Regions from separate parts of the Homo sapiens genome. Here all the other regions are linked to region 3. Evidence: promoter capture Hi-C in 16 types of primary human blood cells and fetal thymus (Javierre and others, 2016). All regions are on one chromosome and are shown on one strand. Each heading gives the region's core, a stretch centred on a gene start or on the middle of the fragment in contact. The rest is flanking DNA. Distances are from core to core; before and after follow the strand shown. Region 1 overlaps OTUD4 (OTU deubiquitinase 4). Region 2 has its middle 37 kb from the start of OTUD4. Region 3 holds the start of SMAD1 (SMAD family member 1). Region 4 overlaps LOC105377465 (a long non-coding RNA gene).

Region 1 (2,700 bases), core at 151-2,650, 320 kb after region 3:
TTAAAACTTAATCTTGAGTGATTTTTCTAGGTCATTTCATGTGGTTATACCTCATTCTTTTGAATGAATGCATGATATTCTATAGTGTGGCTGAAACATGAATTATTTTTTATGAGACATAGTTTCGCTCTTGTCTCCCAGGCTGGAGTGCAGCAGCGCGATCTCGGCTTACTCGACTGCTGCCTCCCAGCTTCAAGTGGTTCTCCTCCCTCAGCCCCCGAGTAGCTGGGATTATAGGCATGTGCCACCAGGCCCGACTAATGTTTTGTATTTTTAGTAGAGATGGGGTTTCACTGTGTTGGTCAGGCTGGTCTTGAACTCCCAACCTCGTGATCTGCCTGTCTCGGCCTCCCAAAGTGTTGGGATTACAGGCGTGAGCCACCACATCCTGCCTGAAACATGAATTATTTTACTATTCTGTAGGAATCTTAGGGACTTTTTTTTTTTTTTAAACACTGTTACAAATAACTCCCAGTGACATCATTATTTTACATACACTTTTGTAGATGTGAAATATTTCTTTATGATAGACGTATAGAAGTTGAATTGCTGGGTCACAGGGTATATGGGACATTTTAAATTTTGAAACATACTGGCCATTTGCCTTTCAGAAAGGCTTTAAGTGACTTTTCTAAGGAGTGTAGAATTTCTCTTGTTTTCAAAACAATTGCTAGGACACTGCTCTCTTTTGTACCTTCATTTACCCTGAAGAGAAGAGATCTTCTGCCCTTTTCTATACTTCCCAATTTTCTGCTTCTATTCAATATTTCTTTCTTTCTTTTTTTTTTTTTGAGACCGAGTTTTGCTCTTGTTGCCCAGGCTGGAGTGCAATGGTGCAATCTTGGCTCACTGCAACCTCTGCTTCCTGGGTTCAAGCGATTCTCCTGCCTCAGCCTCTTGAGTAGCTAGGACTATAGGCATGGGCCACCACACCCGGCTAAGTTTGTATTTTTAGTAGAGAGGGGGTTTCTCCATGTTGGTCAGACTGGTCTCGAACTCCCGACCTCAGGTGATCCGCCCTCCTTGGCCTGCCAAAGTATTGGGATTACAGGCATGAGCCACTGCGCCCAGCCGCCTCTATTCAGTATTTCATTTCCCGAGCTTATACCATGTGCCAGGCGCTCTCCTGAGGGCTAGGCTGGAGGATAGCCCTTGCCTTCAATACGTTCTCAACTTGGGCCAGGCGCAGTGGCTCACGCTTGTAATCCCAGCACTTTGGGAGACTGAGGCGGGTGGATCACCTGAGGTCAGTAGTTGAGACCAGCCTGACCAACATAGAGAAACCCCGTCTCTACTAAAAATACAAAATTAGCTGGGCATGGTGGCACATGCCTGTAATCCCAGCTACTTGGGAGGCTGAGGCGGGAGAATCGCTTGAACCTCGGAGGCAGAGGTTGCGGTGAGCCGAGATCACGCCGCTGCACTCCAGCCTGAGCAACAAGAGCGAAACTCCATCTCAAAAAAAAAAAAGTCTCAACTTAACAGATGCCATGCTGTGGTCTTGCCACACCAATAGGAACTGTCATTTCACCCTGTTAGTATTTTTTTGTGTATGTGTGGGAGAGACTTGGACTGCATTTTACCACATATTGTGGTCTGTTTTATATAAACGTTTTTATAATATTCACAATACTACTAATAATAATGAGCTTTAAGAACTCATTACGTATGCTGTATGAAGGTATGTATAGAAATATAAAGTGGAATCTAAAAAGTGTGAGACACTTACATGCCACCTTTTTTTCTTCAATACAGGAATGGGTAGGACAAGTGGAAATAAGTGCCCTTTCTCTTATGTACAGGTAAACACTGTAATAACATAAGTAAAAGAAAATGAAACCAGTGGGAAATTATATTCCATTATATTAAAAATGTTAAAATAGCAAAGCTCTTTTATACTTTAGTTATGAAGTATCTTTTCTAAGTTTTTTTTAATTGCATCAATTAGATTTTGACATTTAGATATGTCAGTGTTTAGAAATTTTAATTCTCAAAATACTTTGGAAAAGGGTACAGAAATTTTTCCGGTCTATGTTCTGTAAGATATCACTTATCAACTTTGTAGAGAAATGATTTTCTACTTTCTCAGGGTCAGTGGTATTGAATGGCCACTAGAACCGTACTAAAATACCATGTTACAAATTGGGTATTCCTTATCTGAAATGATTGAGTCCAGAAGTTTTTGGATTTCATTTTTTTTTTAAATTTTGGAATATTTACATTATGCTTACCCAGTTGAGCATCCCTAATTTGAAAATCTGAAATCCAAAATGCTCCAATGAGCATTTCCTTTGAGTGTCATGTTGGTGCTCAAAAAGTTTTAGATTTTGGAACATTTGGGATTTTGGCTTTTTAGATTTGGGATGCTCAACCTGTATTCAATTTTGCTACTTTTGCCTAGTAGAGGAGCAGGTAAATACTTTGTTTTTTCTTTTCAGAATGTTGTTTAAATTTCATCTTCAAAATTTCTTTGATTTTTGAAGTGTCCCTTTAGAATTATATCTGAAATTTAATATATATACAAATAATATTTGAAATTTTACATGTTAAAAAGGTTACTTTTATATAGATATTTTACAACTTAGTTATCTCATTATTGTCTTTTGTATCTCCAGTGGTTGGGACAGTGCCTGGCACGTATTAGGCCCTTGATGAATGAATGAATGATTAAATTCAAATTCATGAAGTATAGTCCATTAT
Region 2 (2,926 bases), core at 69-2,568, 260 kb after region 3:
TGAAACATTGTTTATGTAATTCAAACATATATGGATAAAAATATGTTAAACATGTTACTGCTATCAAACCATGAATCCTTAAGTGGCTGTAGCTGGAGGCAGAAATATTTGAATATGTTATTCAATTCTTTGGAATAAAATTGTGCTCATTTCAGCAGCATATATACTAAACACTGGAATAAAATTATATTTGAAGGTGGGGTACTTACTTCCCTTTATTATAAATAGTATTTGTTCTGTATACAAGTATAGGTAAATAAAACCACAGAGAGTAATATCATTGAACTAATAAACTATTAGTTTAGTTGAATCACATACTTTCTATGATCAAAAGCTATTATCTTTTCCCAAAACAGTTAAATACTTCTAGTGCCTTGGGATAGACTGTTACATAAATCAGCCAAAGATAGCCTCTGTATATTAGCCTCAAAGTTGGTTGTTTCTCCACTGCAGGCTGAGACCCATTAGCTCAAAAGCCCACTGACACCAAACTTAAATTTTTACACATCCAGTTATTTTAAAAATAGCCTGACCAAGAAAAGTTTAGCTGCTTAGAGCCTGTCTGCTTTGCATACCCCGCAAAATCTCACCCAGCAGCTGTTACCTATTCATAAGACAGGGCCGTGTAGTTATAAGGCCTCAAGCCAAGCTGGGCTCTCTGACCCAGAGACTCTATGTAAGCTTCCTCTCCAATCTCTCTCTCCCTTGTCCTCCTCCCTCACCAGTAAGGCTGTGAGGGACTTCTCCTCTCATGCAACCCTGGCCAAGCACCAACAAACTTGTCACTGCCTCTCTTGTGGACATCCTGTTCCTTGATCAGCCCCATATCCCTCGACCCCCTACATAGACTAATTACAAATTCAGTGAAAAATTATAAGATGCTGCTGATTATGGTTAAGATATAACTATAGAAAAGAAAAAATTTGTGAACTGCATCTAAAATTCATTAATTGTAATCTGAGACTATTAAGAAAAGTTGTGAAATTTTATATGGATTCAAAAGATGTCAATCTGGGATAGGCAAAGAAATATGTCTCAAACTTAAAAAAATTCTTCCTATTTCCACATGCATTCAATAGGAATGGACCATCATCTTGATTCTCTCATTTACTAGTTGTGGGAATTTAAACAAGTTTTTCTTTTTGAAGAAAACTCTCTCTGAACTTCCAGTTCTGTTCCAATAAAATGGAATTAGTCGTGCTTATTTGCAATGTTATTGTGGGTTACTGTGAATATTATTTGAGATAACAAGTGTAAGTCACCTGCCACATAATGGGTTTTCAAAGTTCGTTAGCTCTCTACCCTAGACATGATAACAACACGTTTTCTTGAAAAGAAAAACTATCACTAACATATATAGGAAGTATTTCATTGATCTTTACAAACAGTATTTTCAGGAGTAATTTATTAAAGAAAAAGCTAACATTCAAAAGGCAGAGATGGCTCAAGTCACTCGCCTGTGAATAAGGCTATTCTTACTGTTCCCTGTCCTTGCCTTAAAAGAAGTTTTTATAAAACAAGTGAGTTGAAGAGTTTCCTTCCTGCTTTCAGCACTACTGTGGTTTCATTTGGAAGACAATGTGGTCTAGTGGGAAGACAGAACAAGGATCTTGGAGCCAGCTGATTCCAACACAGTGTAGAGGAGGCTAGCCACAAAGTCACCAACCTGAGACCCCAGGCAAATCCCTTGACCCCCCAAGCCCCAGTCAAACCCATGACAACCAAGTAAAATGTGCTAAAATCTGACTCTCTTTTCCTGAAAGGAAGGCATCTTTTAAAGGAACCAAAGTGCCTTGAGAATTTTTTTAATAGTGTCTTTCAGAAACATGAATTCTGAATGAAGTAGCAAAAAAGTGATAATATGAATGATAATATGTATGATTCCAAATACCGGAATCCATACAGATGGCAATTTCTCCACATCCTTTATTGCTAAATATTTGGCTTAAGCTTCCATTATGCCAACCATGGTAAATGCTGATGTCTGAAGTGTTGATTCAGAAAAATAGGTATAAGGGATTTCTTACATACATGAAAGAACTCCCTTTCAATCCAAACTTTTACAAAATTTGGGCCAAACAATAGTCTCCATTTTGCTTAGAACCTCACATTGAACTTCAGAACATTTTTAAGATTTTTGTTCTAAAAGTATCTAATCCAAGGCAAAGAACTGGAGAATATTTGTTGTAGAAAAAAAAAGGAAGACATCATTTAGTCAACATGTAGTTGCATAATGAAAGAGGTCTCAGGATGCCTAGCTTCTATATTAATTTATATTTCATTCTAGACCTCAAATAACATTTGGATCAGCTTTTAAATCCATCAAGCTGTCAAAACATACATACACACATCCAATAAGCAAAAATCTCTGTAACACATGCCCAAGGATCTAATGCCACCTAAAGGCAACTGTAGCTAATTGCAAAAACAAAACAAAACAAAAAAAGGATATATGACAAGATATTAAAACTTTTCTCCCTGGATATAAACATAAATGATATGTTCTTAGCTTAATACATTCCTATGTTGCTTACAGACAATACCTACTAAAGTGAGTGACAAATTTAGCATAATCAATTTTAAAATACAAATAGCTACTCAGGGGCAAAATCTGTGTGTTTGTGTGTGTATGTGTTCAGTATTACAATAAATCAAATAAATACAATTAAAACTAGGGTAGAGTCTTTTTAAAATTCAATGCTGAATAGCCAAAAGGTGAAAGCAACCCCAGTCTCCATTGAAAGATGAATGGAAAAACAAAATGTGCTATATACATACAATGAAATATTATTCAACCCTAAAAAGGAAGGAAATTCTGACAGATGCCATAACGTGGATAAACCTTGAAGGCAATTAATTAAATAAACCCATCACAAAAGGAGAGATGTGATTCCACCCATATGAGGTACCTAGAGTAGTTAAATTC
Region 3 (2,963 bases), core at 165-2,664:
GTATCATTCCACGTACTTTGAAACTTCAGATACAATGGAAAGAAAAGAGGGGGGAGGGCAGAGAAAAAGGACAGTTGTCTCAGCACTCACGAAAAGGATGCTTTCTCAGGAGATGGTTCTGAGACCGGCCTCAATTTTCAGAAGGAACGCGCCTTTACTGGTTATCTTGCACCGTGTATTTAAAAATTGCATGCTCTTCAAAATAAACAAAAGCTCAGCTACTGTAGCTGTGAGATCTGGCAGGCATTTGTTCCTCCTCCCCTCCTAAAGCACATCAAGAAAACGTTCTCCCTTTAAAGCCTTCATACAGTTTCAGCAACTAGAAAAACAAGCCCACATCTGTCTCTCACGCCCACCACCCCCACCTTCCTACAGAAACAACCCCGAGAAACACTAACAAAGACAGGGAGCAGAGTAAAGGAACAGTTGTTCAACCGCGAACTCACGAATACACATGCAGTGAGGCAATCGACTCCGGTAAAGGGAAAGGAACGAGACACCAGGAGACGCAGCGGGTGTAGGCGGAAGAGGGGGAAAAAATTACGCGCCGCCGCCAAACCTTTGAATAAATTAGAGGGGATCTCGGTGCGAACTTTCCTTGACCTCGACCCCAAAGAGGCTTGCTGGGGCCGAGAAGAAAACCCGTGCGGGATGTGGAGGGGCCCGGGGCGCCGGGGTCCCCCGCCCGCGAGACCCGCTCCACCAGGCGCCTTGGAGAGCAGCGCCAGCGGTCGTCCTCCAGCTCCCGCAGGGGTCGCCCCGCCGGCGCGGGGGACACAATGGGTCCGCGGGCCACGCGAACGGGCCTCGGCCCGGCGGCAGCACGGGAGAGATGTGAGGAGCGCGCGGAAGGGGAGCGCGGCCGGGGAGATCCCAGCGCGGTCAGGCCCGGGAGCCGAGGCTCGGGGGCCCGGGAACTGGGCTTCCCACAGCAGAAGACCCAACAAAGACACCAGGGGAGCCCGGCGGGCTGGGCGCGAGAAGACGTGGTAGCAGGTTCGCTCCTCCGAGCAGACGGGAGGCGCCATCATGGGGGGGGGGGGTCGCGGCCCGCCCCGCGCAGAAAGAGCCCCCTTCCCGCCGCTGCCCGCGCCCCCAGCCCAGCACGACCGCGGCGGCCCCACGCGTGCAGAGACGGCGGCGGCGGCGCTGGAAAGCCCGGGGCGCCGAGGGGAGGGCTGGGACGCGGCATGAAGGGAAAGTTCGGTTCGGGTCTGTTTCGTTTTACCGGGTTGGCGGCGCGCCCGTCCGTGTGGGAGCACGAGTGGCCGGGCGAGCGGGGTCTCGCGGCCCGGGTCCGGACGGCCGGGCGCTGCGCCACTCTCCGCTCCCCGAGCCTCGGCCCGGGTTGAGCCGCTCGGCCTCTCCTTTCTCCGCCCGCCCGCCTGCTTTCTCCTGGAGCCTGGATTGATCTGGTCGCGCTGGCGTCAGGGAGTCGGAGCTGCCCAGCCTCCACTCCTCAGCTGCCAATACCCGGCGCACTCGCCTGCCCGCCCGCCCGCTCACACGCTCACCCGCTCACCCGCGCGCCGCCGCCGCTGCCGCGCGACCAGGGATCCTCTCCAAATTCCCGGCCCGGCCGGCGTGAGCGCAGCGCGGCCGGGGCCGGAGGACGGCGCGGGGGAGCGGCCGGAGCCACCCCCTTCTACCGGCAGCCCCACGCCCCGTTTCTTCCTGGAGAAAAAACAGTGTGGCGGCGTTCAGGCTTTCCTAACCCTGCCTTTTTAGTCCCGGTGGAGCGGACTTAGTCCATTATCTGCAAGTGAATTTCGATGTTCCATATGTTTATTTTCTGAAATGTTCATTAACGCTTCCACCGCGCCCACTGAATCGTTCTATAAACGTGGAGTGCATGTTGACAGTTACCTTTCGAGACGCGCCCTTTTATGTCTATCTTTCGTTGCCCCTCACTCACTCTCCAATAATTTGCAGGCCCCAGAAGTTGTACGTACCCAGAATTGGATAGCCTAGTAAATACTGCACGTGGTTATACAAACCCTGAGTCAACAGATGCGTTTTGTGTCAACTCAGGATCCAGTGATTCGAGTAGGTAACCTTGTTGCTCCAAATAATGGCATGCCATAAGGAGATACTGCTTTAGAACTCCACATTTTTGGTCCAATTTCTACAGTCTTTTAGATGATGCCAACTCCCCCGCACTTAACTCTTACCTACCTGATCTGCATAGACATTGAAAATATCTTCTTGCAAGAGTCAACTTTTCTCTTGGCTAACTCTTGAAGCTGCATAAAATCTTGCATAATTACTATAATGTTGAGTTACGTTTAGAAAAAATGATTTTTTTTTGAGGAATAAATTTCACATGAAGCAAAAAAAAAAAAAAAAAAATCACTCCCAGCAATGTATATCAGAATATGTCTTCTAATTAAATTCCTTTTTCCCTTAACCTATTTGAGCACTTACTGGTCAATTCGTGGGCCTCATCTTATTTTCCCTAAAAGCAGCGTTTGACGCAGTTGATCATTCTCTGCTCCTTAGAACAACAGGAAAGTGAACCTTGTTAAATGCCACTCGGATCAGGCCACTCCTCTGTTGAAAACCCTCCCTTGATAAATAGTATAAAGTATCCCATACAAGAGAACATTATTCAGCCATAAAAAGGAATGAAGTACTGATACTGATGCATGCTACATGGATAACCTTTCAAAACGTGAAGGGAAAGAAGACAGACCACACATTGTATTCTTCCACATATGTGAAATGCTCAGAGTAGGCAAGGCTATGGAGACAGAAAGTAGATTGGTGGTTTGCATAGGGTTGGGGAAATGAGGAACCTGGGGAGTGACAGCTAAAGGTTATGGGGTGACAAAATTGTTCTAAAACTAGTTTCTGGTGATGGTTGCACAACTCTGTGCATATACCAAAAGCCATTAAATTGCACACTTTAAATGGGTCAATCATTTGGTATGTGAATTTTACCTCAAGCTATTAAAAAAAAAGCA
Region 4 (3,013 bases), core at 147-2,646, 280 kb after region 3:
AAAAAAAAGAAAGAAAGAAAGAAAAAATTCTGCTCTGTGTATCTTTTCTTAATGTACAGTAAGCTTAATTTGATAAAAAAATATTGAAATGTATCAAACAAATTTTTAAAAAAGAATAAGAGAAGGCAATTTGGTCAGAGGATATTAAGACAAGGCTACTTGTATATATGTTTTATTTTATATTTTTCTCAGAAAAATAAAACTAGCTTTAAATAGTCACTGGTTTTATTTCAGGACTATGACTGGAGCTTCTCTTCACTGCAATATAGAACAGCATCAAAGGCAAATAAGACCAATAGAATCACATTGCTAATACTGCCCTCATTTCGTTGTGTGCACACCATCAAACAGGCAGATGAAGAGGATCCTTGTCTTGGGTAGATTCAGTACTTTTTTAAAAAGTCGAACAGTGTTCAATGTTTAGTAATAATATTTTTGTACCCTGGGCTCTACCTAATTATTCTTCCTAAACCAACTTTTATAGGCAAAGGTTGAACTATATACAATACACCTTCAGGGGTTTTCCTTTCAAAATATAATGTATCTACACTATGGGTGAAGCAGTATAGCATAGTAGATGAACTTAGGAGTCAGTGAAGCCTTGGTTCAAGTTTTGTCAAGTTATTGTAATTTTAGTATTTTCATATTTAAAACAAATAACAAAACTTCCTAGAGTGACAATTAAACAAGATAATATATGAAAAACATAGTTCCTTAAATAAAATGGAGTGTTAACAAATAGAGGCTATTGCTATTACAGTATGCTATCTGAATATTCCTTAGGCACCATATACAGTTGGCCCCCTGTATATCCGCAGGTTCTGCATCTGCAGATTCAACCAACCGTGGGTTGAAAATATGTGCAAAAAACCATTTTAAATAGCAATACACCGATAAAAAAATACAAATAAAAAAACACAACAAATATTTACATGGCATTTACATTGTATTAGGTATTATAAGTAATCTAGAGATGACCAAGTATACCAGAGGATACGCATAGGTTGTACGCAAATATGACACCATTTCATACAAGGGACTTGAACAGCATGGATTTTGGTATCTGCAGCGATCTTGGAACCAATTCCCCCTTTCACACTCCCCCACCCCACCCCATGGATACTGAGGGAGGGCTGTCCTGTAGTACATATTTAAATAAGACCCCTAAAGGGAAATAACCACATTTGTAACGCTATGGAATTTCCATTCATCAACTAAATAGCAAACAACATGCATGGCACTGTAACAGATGTGCCAATTGCCATCTAATTGGCAATAACAAAATGTATATATGCAAAATATGGCCTTAGATACCGTTAGCTAAAAATGTAAAATTGTGCCATATGGGCGGTTAGGGAAGAAGCACAGTGTAAAGTAGCAAATGGTTAGTACATATAAAATATGCTGAAGGAATAAAGAGTGGAAGTGAGAATGCGGTCAAGGGTCCTCAGGAAAGTTAACATTTTAGGATACTCAATTATAAGTGATAGAAACCTAACACAAAGTAGCTTAGGGGGAAAAATAAATTAGTTGGTACAAGTAACTAAACCGTGGTAAGGGCCAGGGCACATTTGTGCCTGTGATAATACTAAAACCAGGCGCTCTAACGCCAACATTTTTTTTTTCATTTTCCTCCTACTGTTGCTTTTCTCTATATGTCAACTTCATTTTCTTAGACTGACTTTTTCCACAAGGCTAGGAAATTACTAAGCCAAGGGAAAAGTCAAGCTGGGAACTAGGTCAGACAAACCTGCCTCCCATTTTATTTCTAAATAAAATACCTACAAAGCTACATACCTCCCTCACAATTTGCCCACAAGGAAATTCCTTGTGGGCCTCAAGATCTTTACCCTAAAACAGTTCTGTTGAAGTTCATCCTGATCGCTTATCTTCACAGATGTGAGCAGAAGCTCATCCCTCTGCTCACCTGAGAGAAATGCATATCTGATGGCTTCCTCTGCCCTAATATTCATGTAAAAATGTGGATTCACTGAGCCAGACTAAATTGTGTACTCAGTAAAAAGCTGATCAAGGACTCAAAAAGAATGTAACCCTTTGTCTCTCACCTACCAGTGTCCTAGAAGCCCCTTGCTTTGAGTTGTCCCATCTTTCCAGACCGAACCAATGTACATCTTATATGTATTGATTGATGCCTCATGCCTCCCTAAAATGTATAAAATCAATCTGTACCCTGACTACCTTGGGCACATGTTGTCAGGACCTGCTGTGGCTGTGTCATGGGCGTGTCCTTAACCTTGGCAAAATAAACTTTCTAAATTGATTAAGATCTGTCAGGTACTTTTGGGTTCATATCACGGATAGCAGATTTAGGGAGCAGCCACTACCCACAGAACCGAGATAAGGAAGCCCATTCCGGGCTGACATCCAGACCTCATAGAAACAGCAAGGACTTAGCTCAGTGGATGGCAGAGAAGTTTGCGGAGGTGCCATACTAATGAAACTTGCTGGAAATCCACCTAATGAAGTGCTGGGGGAAGCTGTTCATGGAGAAATAACTTGTCGCCAGCACTCCACTGTCAAGTCACCAAAGAGGTCCCATGAAAAGCTGTTCATAGGGAGGTGCCATATGCTAATAATCACTGGGTGCAACTGGGTGTGGCTGAGTACTGCAGGAGCCTGACAAGAAGAGCACACTGCAACCAGGGAGAGAGAAACTCTTTTCTTCTCCAGCCAGCATCCCCCCAACACCCTCTACTGACAAAGCTTAACATCATGGCAACTGGCAAAGGAGAAAGTCTAGCTTCATTATTATGGTGCAGGCAATGAAGTGTGGATTTGGAGCTAAGAAGCAATAAACTAGTAATTGACACAGATTATTTATGGAATTTTCTTAAATACTCATCTTGAAAAAATACCATCCATCAGCCTTATGCTGCTCTACTTAAACACAACTTAGCCAGAGAAGGAGGAGGGGATATAGTGTCTCAAAAGGCTCTGCAAATTCTGCAGGTGAAAGGAGACTACTTAAAAATTAAAAGAGGCCAGGTGCAGT

What was found. The method cuts DNA at HindIII sites, captures the fragments that hold promoters and counts their contacts. A CHiCAGO score of 5 or more calls a contact.
Region 1: a contact is called between a fragment that was not itself captured here and the fragment with the promoter of SMAD1 in region 3, in 1 of 17 cell types (erythroblasts). The highest score is 5.1, in erythroblasts.
Region 2: a fragment that was not itself captured here is called in contact with the fragment with the promoter of SMAD1 in region 3 in 1 of 17 cell types (endothelial precursors); the score reaches 7.8 in endothelial precursors.
Region 4: a fragment that was not itself captured here is called in contact with the fragment with the promoter of SMAD1 in region 3 in 1 of 17 cell types (erythroblasts); the score reaches 6.0 in erythroblasts.

The regions. Positions count from the first base shown.
Region 1 is chr4:145,164,253-145,166,952 of GRCh38, reverse strand. It overlaps OTUD4 (OTU deubiquitinase 4), which reads left to right. Exons shown (of 21, transcript NM_001366057.1): 4 at 1,756-1,802. Among named protein-coding and RNA genes, the nearest start is that of OTUD4, 15 kb to the left of the region's middle. The HindIII fragment of the contact is 5,397 bases long and covers 1-2,700 here.
Region 2 is chr4:145,216,204-145,219,129 of GRCh38, reverse strand. No RefSeq gene overlaps it. Among named protein-coding and RNA genes, the nearest start is that of OTUD4, 37 kb to the right of the region's middle. RefSeq lists an enhancer at 528-617. The HindIII fragment of the contact is 1,269 bases long and covers 684-1,952 here.
Region 3 is chr4:145,480,304-145,483,266 of GRCh38, reverse strand. It overlaps SMAD1 (SMAD family member 1), which reads right to left and starts at 1,414. Exons shown (of 7, transcript NM_005900.3): 1 at 1,229-1,414. RefSeq lists silencers at 596-695, 786-845, 1,186-1,345, 1,516-1,645. The HindIII fragment of the contact is 17,310 bases long and covers 1-2,963 here.
Region 4 is chr4:145,198,847-145,201,859 of GRCh38, reverse strand. LOC105377465 (a long non-coding RNA gene) reads left to right here. Exons shown (of 3, transcript XR_939276.1): 2 at 235-377. Among named protein-coding and RNA genes, the nearest start is that of OTUD4, 20 kb to the right of the region's middle. The HindIII fragment of the contact is 2,661 bases long and covers 66-2,726 here.